Regions from separate parts of the Homo sapiens genome. Here regions 1 and 2 are each linked to region 3. The links are contacts of gene promoters, found by promoter capture Hi-C in blood cells and fetal thymus (Javierre and others, 2016). All regions are on one chromosome and are shown on one strand. Each heading gives the region's core, a stretch centred on a gene start or on the middle of the fragment in contact. The rest is flanking DNA. Distances are from core to core; before and after follow the strand shown.

Region 1 (4,928 bases), core at 525-3,024, 2.2 Mb after region 3:
TTTTAAGCTTCTAAGTGACACCATCAAATTTATGTTTCAGATATACAAACAACTTAGGCAACAGTTGAAGAGAATGAGTTGGAAGAGATGAGGCCTTTCATTAGAGGCATGAGACTAGAAAAAATGAAAGCTAAACCAAAAGCAAACAGAAGAAAGGAAATATTAAAGATTAGAAAAGAAGGAGACAGAATATCAATAAAGAAAATCAATGAAACCAGGAATTGGTTCCCTAAAAGGATCAACAAAATTGGCAAACCTTTAGTGAAACTAAGAAAAAAAAGAGAGAAGATTTAATACAAGCAAGAATAAAAGAACCATCACTAATAGCCTTGCTGAAATAAACAGGAATAAGAAGGAATACTATGAACAACTATGCTTAAAAAAGATAAAGTAGATAAAATGGCCAGATTCCTAGAAAAACACAAACTACCTAAATCAACTCAAGAAGGCATAAAGAAAAATCTGACTAGATCTAACATAATTAAAGAAATTGAATTAGCAAGAAAAAAAAAAAAACCTATCCAGAAGGAAAAGCACAGGTCCAGATGGCTTCGCTGGTAAATTCCACTGAACAATTAAAGAATAACACTTAAGAAACTATTCCAAAATATAGAAGAGGAGGAAACAATTAACAACTAATTCTATAAGGCAAGTATTACTCTGATTCCAACCAGACAAAGAAATCAACAAGAAACAAAAACTTCAGCCAGGTGTGGACTCTGATTCCAACCAGACAAAGAAATCAACAAGAAAAGAAAACTTCGGCTGGGCCTGGTGGCTCATGCCTGTAATCCCAGCACTTTGGGAAGCTGAGGCAGGAGGATCACCTGAGGTCAAGGGTTTGAGACAGCCTGGCCAACATGACAAAACCTTCTCTCTACTAAAAATACAAAAATTAGCCAGGCCTTGTGGTGTGTGCCTGTAATCTCAGCTACTCTGGAGGCTGAGACAGGAGAATCACTCAAACTCAGGAGGCAGAGGTTGCAGTGAGCCAAGATTGGGCCATTGCACTCTAGCCTGGGTGACAGAGCAAGATTCCGTCTCACAAAAAAAAAAAAAAAAAAGGAAAGAAAAAAGAAAATAAAACTTCAGGCCAATATCCCTTATTAATAAACACAAAATACTCAGAAAAGTACTAGCAAACCAAATTCAGTAGCATATGAAAAAAAAATTATACACCACAAATAAATGATATTTATTTCAAAAATACAAAGTTGGTTTAACATCCCCAAATCAATTAATCTAATGTACCATTGAATACAGGACAAAAACTATATGATAATTTTAATAGATGCAGAAAAAGCATTGGACAAATTTCAACATGCTTTCATGATAAAAGCACACAACAAGCTGGGAAAAGAAGAGAAATTTTTCAACCTGATAAAGATGCTTAGAAAAACCCCACAACATCATACTTAAGAGTGAAAGGCAATTCTTTTCTGCTAAGATCATTCACAAGACAAATATTTTTCCACTCTCACCACTTCTATCCAACAATATATTGGAAATATTAGCTAAGGGAATTAGGCAAGAAAATAAAATGAATAAAAGTCATCCAGAAGAGACAGGAAAAAGTAAAACTATCTCTATTCACAGTTGCATAATCTTTTATATAGGATTATTAAGGAATACACACATACATACAATTAAAACAAATAACTTCAGCAAAGTTACATTATACGTGATCTATCAGGGTCAGCTCAGGCTGCCATAACAAAATACTATGGATGAGGTGGCTTAAACAACAGAAATGTATTTCTCACAGTTCTGAAGGCTGATAAGTTTAAGACCAAAGCCAGCAAGACAGATTTCATTCTGAGGCTTTTTCTTTTGGCTTATACTGGTTACCCTCTCATGGTATGCTCATATTTACCTCTTTTCGTGTGTGCTTGGGGTTGGGTCAGGGTGGAGAGCAAGATCTCTGGTGTCCCTTTTTATAAGGCCACTGTTACCATCATGACCTCATCTAAACCTAATTATCTCCCAAAGATTCCATCTCCAAATACCATTTTATTGAGGTTTAGAGCTGTAATATATGAAATCTGGGGGACATAGTCCATAGCAATCAATATACAAAAATATGCTCTAGTCTATTATAGCAATGAATAATCTGAAAATAAATTAAGAAAACAATTCTATTTACCATAGCATCAAAAAGAAATAAATCTAACAAAATAAGTGTAACACTTGTACACTGAAAAGTATTAAATATTGTTGGAAATACTAAAGATCTAAATAAATAGACATTTCTTATTTAATGATTTGAAGTCAATATTGGTCAGATGGCAATACTCAAGTTGATGTAGCGTTTCATCACAATTCCTATCAAAATCCCAGCTTCCTTTTTGCAGAAATTTTTCACAAAAGATTTGTCAGTAGCAGAAGGCACTGTTTGATAACACTTGTCTCACAGAAGAACTCTCAAAATTGGAATCAGTCCTCTCAATTCTGCTGCTGCTTTATCAACCAAATTTATAAAATATTATAAAGACTTTGTTGTCATTTAAACAATATTCACAGTATCTTCACCAGGAGTAGATTCCATCTCAAGAAACCACTTTCTTTGTTCATTCAAGAAGCAACTCATCATCTGATCAAGTTTTATCATGAGATTGCAGCAGTTCAGTCACATCTTCAAGCTCTACTTCTAATTCTGGTTCTCTTGCTGTTTTCCTCACATTTGCAATGGCTTTTTCCACTGATCTTCAACCCCTCAAAGTCATCCATGTGAGTTGGAATCAACTTTTGCTAAACTCCTGTTAATATTGATATTTTGACCTCCTTGCATGAATCACCAATTTTTTTTTTGAGACAGAGTCTCTATTGCCCAGGCTGGAGTGCAGTGGCATGATCTTGGCTCACTGCAACCTCTGCTGCCCCAGTTCAAGCAATTCTCCTGCCTCAGCCTCCCGAGTAGCTGGAATTACAGGCATCTGCCACCGCACCCGGCTAATTTTTGTATTCTTAGTAGAGACGGGGTTTCACCGTCTTGGCCGGGCTGGTCTTGAACTCCTGACCTCATGATCCACCCACCTCAGCCTTCCAAAGTGCTAGGATTACAAGCGTGGCCACCGCACCTGGCCCATGAATCACCAAATCTTTTTAATAGCATCTAGTGTGGTCAGTTCTTTCAAGAAGGTTTTCAATTTATGTTACCCAGATCTGTCAGAGGAATCGGTATTTATGGTAACTATAGCCTTATAAAATGTATTTTTTTAAATAAGACTTGAAAGTGGACATTACTCCTTGACTCGTGGACTGCAGAATGATGACTGCAGCATGTTGTGCGTGAAAACAATGTTAATCTCTTTGTACATCTTCATCCTCAGGGCTCTTGAGTGACCAGGTACATTTTCAATGAGCAGTAATATTTTGAAAGAAATCTTCTTTTTTCTTAGCCCAGACTTTGTTGTTCCATTTATAGAACACAGGCAGACTAGATTTAGCATCATTCTTCAGGGTCCTAGGATTTTCAGGATGGTAAGTGAGCATGGGCTTCAACAGCTGCATAAGCCTGTAACAAGAGAGTTAGCCTGTCTTTTGAAGCTTTGAAGCCAGGTGTTGACTTGTCCTCTCTAGCTTTGAAAGTCTTAGATAGCATCTTTTTCCCATAGAAGGCTGTTTCATCTACATTTTTAAAAATCTATTGTTTCCTGTGGTTATCTCCATCAGTGATCTTAGCTAGATCTTCTGGATCTTGCTGCAGCTTCTACATCAGCACTTGCTGCTTCACCTTGCACTTTTATGTTACGAAAATGGCTTCTTTCCTTAAACCTCATGAACCAATTTCTAACAGCTTCAGAGTTTTCTTCTGCAGCTTTTTTTACCTCTCTTAGGCTTCATAGTGCTGAAGAGAGTCAGGGCCTTGCTCTGGATTAGGTTTTGGCTTAAGGGAATGTTGTGGATGGCCTGGTCTATCCAGGTCACTAAAACTTTCTCCATATCAGCAATAAGGCTGTTTTTCTTTTTCTTTTCTTTCTTTCTTTCTTTTTTTTTTTTTTTTGAGTCAGAGTTTTCTCTCTGTTGCCCAGGCTGGAGTGCAGCAGCACGATCTCGCCTCACTGCAACCTTTGCCTCCCTGGTTCAAGCATTTCTCCTGCCTCAGCCTCCTGAGTAACTAGGATTACAGGCAGGCACACCACTCCCAGCTAATTTTTTTTTGTATTTTTAGTAGAGACAGGGTTTCACCATGTTGGTCAGGCTGGCCTAGAACTCCTGACCTCAGGTGATCCGCCCACCTCGGTCTCTGAATGTGCTGGGGTTACAGGTGTGAGCCACCGCGCCTGGCCTGTTTTGCCTTTTTATCATTCGTGTGTTAACAGAGTAGCACTTTTAATTTTCTTCAAGAACTTTTTCTTTGTATTCACAGCTTGGCTAACTGGTGCAAGAGGCCTACTTTTTGGCCCATCTTAGCTTTCAACATGCCTCCCTCACTAAGCTTAATCGTTTCTAACTTTTGTTTTAAAGTGAGAGATTTGTGACTCTTCCTTTCACATGAACACTTAAAGGCCATTGCAGCATTATTAACTGGCCTAATTTCAACATTGTTGTATCTCAGGGAATAGGAAGGCTAGAGCAGAAGGAGAGAGATGGGGAACAGCCAGTCGGTGGAGCAACCAGAACACAAATAACATTTAAGTTTGTTGTCTTATATGGGTGTGGTTTGTTGAACTCTAAGACACTTAATAACACTAACATCAAAGATCAGTAATTACAGATCACCATAATAGATAAGGAAGAAGTTTGAAATATTTCAAGAGTTACCAAAACGTGACACAGAAGCATGAAGTGAGTACATGCTGTTGGAAAAAATGGTGCTAATAGACTTGCTTGATACATAGTTGCCACAAACTTTAAATTTGCAAAATATCTGCGAAGTAAAACAATATAGCAAAGCACAATAACATAAAGTGTGCCTTTTATACATA
Region 2 (4,594 bases), core at 571-3,070, 2.4 Mb after region 3:
AGGAGTCCTGGTTTTCTAGTTCTGGTTACATTATTAAATTGCTGTATGACTTGGGCTCACTGGATCAGTTTTCTCATTTGTTGAAAAAAGTGTGTGTGAATGGGGAGGGGCTTAAAGTTGTTACCCAAAATTCTCGTTTTGAGCCACTCCTCTTGTTTCATCCTTCTAATCAGGAAACTCAATGTTCTCTAAGGTCTAAATTCCGAAATATGAAACACATCTGAAATTGAATGGAACGATTCAATCTCCAACCGGATGGCACAAGATACAAAGGGTGGACTCCTATGAAGTTAACAATGAATCCAATAACTTTCCAGAAATTGTCTAATCCTAACTTCTTAAAGAAGCAGGTGAAATCTGGTTTGGCATACCTAATATTACTTAAAGGAGTTATAAAATGGTATTGCTTTGTTGAAATTTCCGTGTTTTCTGGGTTCCAGTGGCACATACTCTGCAGGTGCTAGCAAAGTGGAGAGAAAGGGATCCAGCCAGTATTTCAACAAACCACACTTCAACCCAGTCACCGCAGTATGATCCCGACAAGGCCTACACCACAGAGCAGAACCTCCCCACCCCCAGAATTGCCAGCAGCCAATGTAATGAATGCTTCCGTCAACAACACACATTCCCCTTCCCACAGCAGAACTGCTCGCTCCCAACCGGCCATCTGGGGTTGGAATTGGCCGCACAGCACCAAACTAAGAATCATTCTCGGCCCCAAAAGCCAAGAGCTACCAGAGATTGAGGTTTCCCTGCGCATGGCTGCGGGGAGAGCAGCACCCCCTCCCACCAATGGGGGGAAAAAAAAAATCAGTGGGAAGGAGAGTAGAAACCAGGCCTAGGCAAGGTTGCTAGAGAAATAAATCTTGTTTCTCTTTAACGAAGAGCAATAACATTTCTTGCACCCTCTCTAATCCGAAGAGAGCCCAGGCTCTTGCACTCGACTTCATTCCCTCCTGGAATCCTAATGGGAGATTAAAAACCACCTTCCTTCCCCGACCTATCCACTCCTCAAACCTGGCATTGTTAAGGAACGTACCCCCAGATCAAGCAGTAAGAGGTGAAGCGAGAGCTAGAACAAGGGCCCAGATTCTAGGACCAAGCGGCTCTTGCAAGAAAATCCCCTTGTGGCCTGAGAATAAAGTTTTAACCAGCAGCAAGGGCGCGGGCCGAGGCCCGGCCAGGCTGGAGGACAGGCCTGCGGAGGTGACACTCCCTTATTCTCCAGCAGCTCGGGAAGGCGGCGCCCGACCGCCACGGCCCGCACCCTGGGAGCAGGGCGAGGGCGCCGACGAGGGGCCGGGGCCGGGGCCGGGGCTGGCGGGAGGCCTGGCCCGCGCCGCTCCCGCCTCCTTCCCCACTCCCACTTCCCGGCCCCCAAGCCCGGGCCCGTGAGGTAATGTCACGGGTGGCGACGCGGGTCTCGTCCACTGACCACACATTTCTTGCCGAGGAAAGTGAAGAGGGACTCGTTCTCCTGCGGGGTGAGCAACAGGGACCCCACGTTGGTGACCCTCCGCGGCGGCGGCGGCTGCTGCTGGACGGAGCTCATGGTTTCGCCGGCGGGGTTGGGAGTCCAGGGCCGTCTCCTCCGGCGAGTGGGCGAGAGCTCGTTCCCCCTCTCGGTGACAGGGGCGGGGAGAAGTGGAGTCAGAGGCGCCACATCTCGCAGCTCCTCCGGAGCGGGGAGGAGGACGAGGTCGAGGGAAGCAGGCGCTGACGGCGAGCCACCTTCGCGCCGCGCTGAGAAAGGGAAGCTCCCGGCACCCGCCCGGCCAGGCTAGGGCCGGATGGTCGTTGTCCTCGCACTCCGGCGACTGCGCTAAACTCCCAACTCCTCCCCCAACCCTCCCGCAGCGGCGGCGGCGGCCGCACAATCCAACATGGCAGCGGGGGCGGGCGAGACCACAGGACGGAGGGCGCGGGGGAGCGCGCCGGAAACGCGCGGCTGCGGCCCGGGAGAAACCCCCCCACTCGGCGGCGGGCCTCGCGGCGCGGGCCCGAAGCCACGCCCCCTTCCGGCCGAGGCGCGGACCGCGCGGAGCTAAGTGGAATCCCGGTTGGCTTGGGGCGCAGGCTTCCAACTTCGTACTCTGGCCTCTGGCGTCTCGGCTCGTCGGTTGGGTACCCGAACCCAGCTACTGCTGCTTGAAGAGAAGATGGATGGGGACTCCTCGCCGTCGCTGCGCCGCCGGCCTTCCCTGGGCGGACGTACACCTTTGCGAAGCGTCAGTGAGGACCCAGGGCCCCTCCTTGGAATAGCTCTTATTTCTCAAGCGCTGCAGCGTGAAGCTCGCTCTGCGGGTCCGAGAGGCCTGCGATCTGAAGACTGAAAACTGGGAAGAGACGCTCTACCCTGTGCTCCTCGCCGGCTTCGATAGGAGCCGCAGGTGCCTGGGATTTTCTCAAACTTTGTCCCAAACTTCAGCTGTGGGAGTGGAGGAACAAACAGGCCTCTCCCAGAATTGTGAAAGAGATCGCCCTGGTGGATGAAACAAAAACAAATGCACTTGACTTCCACCGCCTGCCTGGCGTGTCACGCGGGTTTAATGTATGTGTCACATTTAAATTCAAAGTATTTTCTTCTAAGGGCCTGGACACATTTCTTTTCTCCCTGTATCGTGAATTGGAAAATACCTTAGGATATTAAAAGTTATCTAAGATAACCCCCTTTCTTCTGTAAGTTAAATACTAAACGGCTTAAGACGAAATTTTGGAATATAGAGATGATGATGCAGACTGCAGTGAATTATCAAATATGCATCTCACTGTTCTCCACATTAAACATATTTTTGTTGCGTAAATTCATGTTAAGACGTCTATAACAATTACACTTTGGTAAAATTGTTGGATGTTAACATCTCTGATAGCTCCCAATAGAAATCTCTGATGTACTAACCAGACTGGTAAACCATTATCATGCACTTTGAAAATATAATAAAATATTATAATTAAAGCTGCCATTAATGAAATAGGCTGAGCAACAATAAATTTACAAAGGAAAATAAAAGTGGATAGCCTTGGGAGTTCTCACATAAAATATGGAGATTTCAAAGTTAAACTTGATTAATTATGTTAGGGTAAAAAGTGAATTAAAGCAACAGGACTATTTATAAAATAATTAGATTTAGAAAGCAGTCGTAGAAATATAAGCCTGGAGTTGCCTCTGAATTACATATTTAACAAACCTAGAAGCTAAATCAGTTTGTCTTTTATCAAAACTGCAACTCCTCTAAGTTGAAAGCACAGTGACAAGAGAAAGCATTACAAATTCTTGAGAAATAATAGAAATTAAAGCTCTTTTCAAACCTGTGAACAAGTATAGTACCAGAAGTATAAGATTCAGATAGGCCCAAGTTGTAGTTCTTGTTATGAGTCTTACAACCCTATGGACTTTGGACAAATTACTTCTCTGCGTCTGTTTCCTCATCTGTAAAATGAAAATAATTTCTGTTTCATACAGGTATAGTCTAAATAGGGATAATTACACCTACTTCAAAGTTGTAAAATACACAATTACAACTAGATAGGAGGTATAAGTTCTAGTGTTCTGTAGCACTGTAGGATGACTATAGTTAACAATATTGTATAGTTTCAAATAGCTAGAAGAAGGATATTGCATGTTCCCAAAACAAAGACATAAGTTTTTGAGATGATAGATATGCTAATTACCCTAATCACTATATGTTATATGTATTGCAACATCACTATGTACCCCCATAAATATGTACAGTTATTGTGTATTAAAATTTTTTTAAACTAAAATTATAAGACATTAAAAAAAGGTATCACATGTAAAGTACCTGATACATAGTGGTTACTCAAGTATTAGTTGTCGGCCATTGACAGTCCTTGCCTATGGTCTTTTCTGCTTTCCCTGAGCTAAGGGATCAAGACTTAATATATGTATTCTTACCTTTGTTCTAATTCTGACTCTTCAAAAACTGTCCTTCAAATATACAATTGTACATATTTTTTCAAAAATATAGTGAAGAACTTGATAGCAGAATTTCTGATTAGGCCATATATTATATCAAATAGGCTACATATATCCCAGTATGCCAAAATAAAACTTTTTAAAACTGTAAATCCAGAGATAGAATCCTATTAGCTTCTAATTTAATAAAAACTGAAAGATTAGCAAATTTTATGTTAGAAATACCAGCTTTTAGAACTTGTAGACCACCAAACTATTTTGAAGACAGGAAAGAGTAGTGGGAGAGGGCTGTGAAAAAAAAAAAAAAGGCCATGAGATGATAGGTGAATGGACAGTAGCTGCGTTCAAGAATTTATCTCATTCTGAGAATTATTGAGTTCCAATCATTTCACAACCTCTTACTAGCCTAGACTATCTATTGTTTTGATTTTCTTTTCTTTCAGGAAATTTTATGACTTATCTAAATGCAATTTTCTTTTTACTATTTGCCCTTTTTCTGTTTTCTTTAGACTTGGAGATGGAAAATGATGACCACAGTAGACTTTTTTCCTCAGGTCCAACCTTTCTTTAATTTTTCTCCAAATTTTTAGTATAGTCCTTTGTCCACAAAATTGCAATTTAAGTTCTTGTCTTCTACCCTCCATTGTTATTTTTGTT
Region 3 (4,650 bases), core at 324-2,823:
AAACACAAGAGACTACTAGTAGCCTCTAGAAAGAGGTACAGGTCGATGAAGTGACCAAAACCGGATGCTGATTTGCTGATTCTGCCAATTTCTTGTTAAATGGCTTTCAGTAAGTGATTAACTTTTATTTTCTAAATTCAATAGAGATCTGCTGGTACTCTGTAAGATACTGTATGACTAATAGTAACGGTTCCCAAGACTTAAGAAAACGTAACTGCAAATTGGCCACAAGTCCAAGGGGTCGGGGCCTCTGCTATCAGCATTGACCTTTACTCTCGGGAGTTCATATTTCCATCTGTAAAACTAGAAAAGATAAAGGGACTTATTCACTGAGCTGTTGTGAGAATAAATGAGCACACGAAACCATTTGGCAGTGCCTAGTACACAGTAAGCAATCTAATATTATTTATGTCATTGTATCCATATATATATGGATACATACATATATATGGATACATGGATACATACATATATACGGATACATACATATATATGGATACATACATACATATATATGGATACATACATATATATGGATACATACATATATATGGATACATACATATATATGGATACATACATACATATATATATATGGATACATACACCTGGCTAATTTTTTTATTTTTTAGTAGAGACGAGGTTTCACCATGTTGGCCAAAAAGAAACAAAGGAAAAGTCCTATCAATTAGATAGCAGTTCTATATTACAGGCAATAATATTTTTTCTTAAAAAAAAAAAAGGTAGAGGATGATGGAAACCGCTCCTCCCACAAGTAAAACAGCTGGAGCTCTCAATCTCAAATTGCCAATCCGTCACTCACATATTCAGATCTAGGGCCACTAATCATCATCCGTGGTCCCGAGCTGTGAGAGCAGTAGCAAACAAATAGGAAGAAAAAGAAGAGACACCAAACATCAAAGGGCTGGATAGCTTGTAAAAAACCAAAAGTACCTCTAGTATAGGCGACACTAAAACTTTACAAGTGAGTCAAAACGGCCCCCTATGGAGTTGGAATGCAACACCCAACTCCGTCCCCACCTCTCGGAGCTCTCAGCCTACACGCTGCAGGGGCGCGAGCCACAGCCAACCTGGGGAAGATGCGACCCAGGTGCCCGCCCCAGGCCGGGGCGCCGAGTGCCAGCGCCAGGTGCAGACGCCGCCCCGTCTCCGCGGAGCCCGGGGATGCCCACGCCGGGGCGGCGGCCGGGAACCCCGGCCAGCGGCTCTCCGGGACCCCAGTCCCGCCTGCGCCCTCTCCAACGTCCGGACACGCCGTGACAACGCGGCCGGGCCCGGGGCCCGCCCCCGGCCGGTGACCGCAGTGCGCGGAGGCTGAAGTCGTAGGTGGGCGTCTGGCTTCCCCGGCCTCCTCCATCCCTCCCCGAACCTGAGCCCCGGCTCCGTCCGCCTCCCAGCCGTCTCACCGGCCTCCCGCCCGCCTCTCCGCCGCGCGCGCCCGCCTTCCGGCCTCCCAGCGCTCAGTCCTGCCGGAGGCCGACGGGAGCCGCCGCCTCCAGCTCGCGCCTCCGCTTCCTCTCGGACTCCTCCGGCTGCCCCTCACCCCGGCAAGTGGCCAGGAGAAAGCCAGCTCGCCGCTGGGCCTCCTCCCACGCTTCCCGGCCGCGACCAATGGGCCCCCGCCGCCGGGAAGCCGCGCCCGCCCCCTGGCGGTGGAGGACCAAGCGGGCGCCCGGGCCGGCCAGAGGGAAGGGCCGGAGAGCGGAGGGAGGGGTCTGCGGTCCCGCCCACCGCCCCCGGCCAGGCGCTGCACAATCTGAACTTGCCACGTGGGAGCTGCCGCCGCCGCAGCGGCCCTGCGCCGGGTGGCACTACGGGAGGGAGAAAAATGTGTCACCGCCGTCTCCCCACCGTTTACACGCACAAAATCCCAGCCTCAAGGGCAGAACATTTTAAATGACCCACCCATCCTAGAGATGCGCCAGTTAGGTCATCTTATATATCTTGAGATAGCTGAGATGGTCAGATCAACCAAGGACCTTGGGTTATTTGCCGTTTGACTTCTTGAACCCTAGGAAACTGATTCTGAAAATCCTACTGTCCAGCGTCATTAGAATTCTGATCACCTTTAATGCACCACCCAAGAAGAACAGTAGTCCTTGCATTTTCCAAGTCACGTTTATTTTTTAAATTATAAGATACACAATCGTTAGAAATATTTTTTCTCAGGAGATTTCCTACAATTGTGTTGATAATTGGGAAGTTAATCCAAATCTTACTACATAAGACCTTAGAATGCAAAATTATTTCATAATTCAGATCCATATTCTAAAATAATGAATAACTGTTACCTAGTATTTGACAGAATATTGGGATCATCAGTGGTTGCAGAAATTAAATTGCATTTAAAAATAGGGTTTGACTATAGTGTGTTAATATAGAATTAATAATCTACCAAATTTTAGCTTTCCTCCAAAAATATAAAACACACAAACTAATAGTAACTATGAATTCTGGAGTTTGTGATCCGTGATCAGGGGAGAAAGCATGAAATGAATTCTCATTGTCTTCCATGTGCCAATATTATGCTATTTGTGTATTACTTAAATCAAAAAACTAAGACTCCAAAACTGAGTTTAAATATCTTGCTCAAAAATACAAGATAGTAAGTTATGAAGCTGGAATTCCGGCCTAGCTTCATGTAGCTCCAAATAAACAAAAAGGCACTTTGCTTATTATAGTACCAAAAAATCATAACACTTACTGTACACATGCCTCTCCTAGACTGCTATGTCTCACTGAAAGAGTTTATGAAGCCTCTTGAGTAGGGAGGTCACGGTGTATTTCTGAAAGAGCAATCTGCTCTGTAACCGAGCCAACCAGATTGGAAATTACATGTGACATATTCTTATAGCACCACACCTGAAACAATTCCTGTGCATAAAGTTTAATGTGTTAGTAGCCTATTCTCCACTGACCATAAGATATAGCTTAGAACCCTTTGGTAGGTAATGAAATTAATAACAATGGGTCACAACCAACATTTTGTTGCTGTTGATTCACTGAAAAATAGAAAAAAAAAACAGTTCAAAGCATAAATTCAGGATAAGTATTCTTCATGAAACATTTGTACAGCATCATGTGTGGGTGAGTGTCTGTGTGTCTATGTCCTGGATACAGTAGAAATTATATTTCTTAATATGGGTTTCAATTTTTTTAACATTGGTAAATCACTTCTTTAGGACTCCTGTTAATCAGCCAGTTCTTACACCTATAAACGAGTAAGGATAACTTCCTACTTTTACTTGGCAGGAGGTAGGGGAGCCAGGAGAAGTATTCAGGATTAATGATTAAGCTTAATAAAACCACAGAGCTTTACAGCTCCAGGAGGTATAAGCCAAAGGTGTTGGCTATTACAATAACTACCGATAATTTATATTATATAATAATAGCTACTGATAATGTATATTTCTAAAGCTGATATTTATTGTGTGCTTATTGTGCACCAGGCACTTTTCTAAGCACTTTATATATATAGACTTATTTAATTCTCACAATAATCCTATAAATACAGCGGAGAAAAGTGAAACTTGCTCAAGGTCCTTCTGCTATGACCAGACAGAGCTAAGATTCAAACTCACGTGCTCAACTTCAAAGCCCAACTTTTTTGTTGACTCGAAAAGAATATACAGAGAGTGTGACATCCAGCTTCTGAGTGTCATCCTTCATAGCACAAGCAACAAAAGAGAGGATTAAATATGGATGATGTTGAGAAAGGCAAGAAGATTTGTATTCAGAAGTGTGCCCAGTGCCACACTGTGGAAAAGGCAGGCAAGCACAGGACTGGGCCTAATCTCCATGGTCTCTTCGGATGGAAGACAGGTCAAGCCGTTGGATTATTTTACACAGATGCCATTAAGAACAAAGGCATCACCTGGGGAGAGGATACACTGATGGAGTATTTGGAGAATCCCAAGAAGCACATCTCTGGAACAAAGTGATCTTTGCCAGCATTAAGAAGAAGGCAGAAAGAGCAGACTTGATAGCTTATCTCAAAAAAGCTACTAATGAATAATAATTGGCCACTGCCTTATTTATTACAAAACAGAAATGTCTTATGACTTTTTTATGTGTACCATAATTTAATAGACCTCACACACCAGAATTCAGATCATGAATAACTGACAGAATATTTTGTTGGGCAGTCCTGATGTAAAACTAAGACTGGCTTGCAGTTAAATGAATATGTTCAGTTTTTTTGAATTTTAATAGTAATCCAATTCAGTAAATGCTATCACTGTTTACCCTTTCTAAAGACATGATTTGATTAGACTTTGTTAGTAATGTTCAGCTTTTCACAAAGATGGTGAATGCCATCTTAAAACATATTGGAGATTGGTTTTATATTTGGATTTATATAACTGGTTATGTGAATATATTTAAATACTGGAGAAATTCCTTCACTATCTCAGAACCAAGCAAGATTCACCTGTGTTTTGTGTTCATTTGCCTCTTAAAGGCAAGGGTTGAAGATAAGGTAGCAATGTCTACTTTATATTTTTGGCCTTAACTATGTCAATCTAATTAGAATTCCCTGTATTTAAAATAGTTCCTTTTACTTATTGAAAGGCATTTTAGTGTGGTGTATGTGTAATATCAAATAAAGATTATTTAACACTTCTCACATTT

Evidence for each region. The method cuts DNA at HindIII sites, captures the fragments that hold promoters and counts their contacts. A CHiCAGO score of 5 or more calls a contact.
Region 1: a fragment that was not itself captured here is called in contact with the fragment with the promoter of FAM3C in region 3 in 2 of 17 cell types (total CD4 T cells and total CD8 T cells); the score reaches 5.8 in total CD4 T cells.
Region 2: the fragment with the promoter of WASL here is called in contact with the fragment with the promoter of FAM3C in region 3 in 1 of 17 cell types (M0 macrophages); the score reaches 6.3 in M0 macrophages.

Annotation. Positions count from the first base shown.
Region 1 is chr7:123,558,812-123,563,739 of GRCh38, forward strand. It overlaps a transcript of NDUFA5 not described here. Among named protein-coding and RNA genes, the nearest start is that of NDUFA5, 3.5 kb to the left of the region's middle. The HindIII fragment of the contact is 3,539 bases long and covers 6-3,544 here.
Region 2 is chr7:123,747,183-123,751,776 of GRCh38, forward strand. It overlaps WASL (WASP like actin nucleation promoting factor), which reads right to left and starts at 1,821. Exons shown (of 11, transcript NM_003941.4): 1 at 1,436-1,821. The coding sequence starts at 1,552. WASL-DT (WASL divergent transcript) reads left to right here and starts at 2,013. Exons shown (of 1, transcript NR_170281.1): 1 at 2,013-3,799. RefSeq lists enhancers at 742-791, 1,551-2,205 and silencers at 1,234-1,323, 1,784-2,103. The HindIII fragment of the contact is 6,394 bases long and covers 1-4,594 here.
Region 3 is chr7:121,394,735-121,399,384 of GRCh38, forward strand. It overlaps FAM3C (FAM3 metabolism regulating signaling molecule C), which reads right to left and starts at 1,574. Exons shown (of 10, transcript NM_014888.3): 1 at 1,428-1,574. It also overlaps the pseudogene CYCSP19. RefSeq lists enhancers at 611-1,196, 1,197-1,781 and silencers at 1,009-1,838, 1,879-1,938. The HindIII fragment of the contact is 3,372 bases long and covers 1-3,314 here.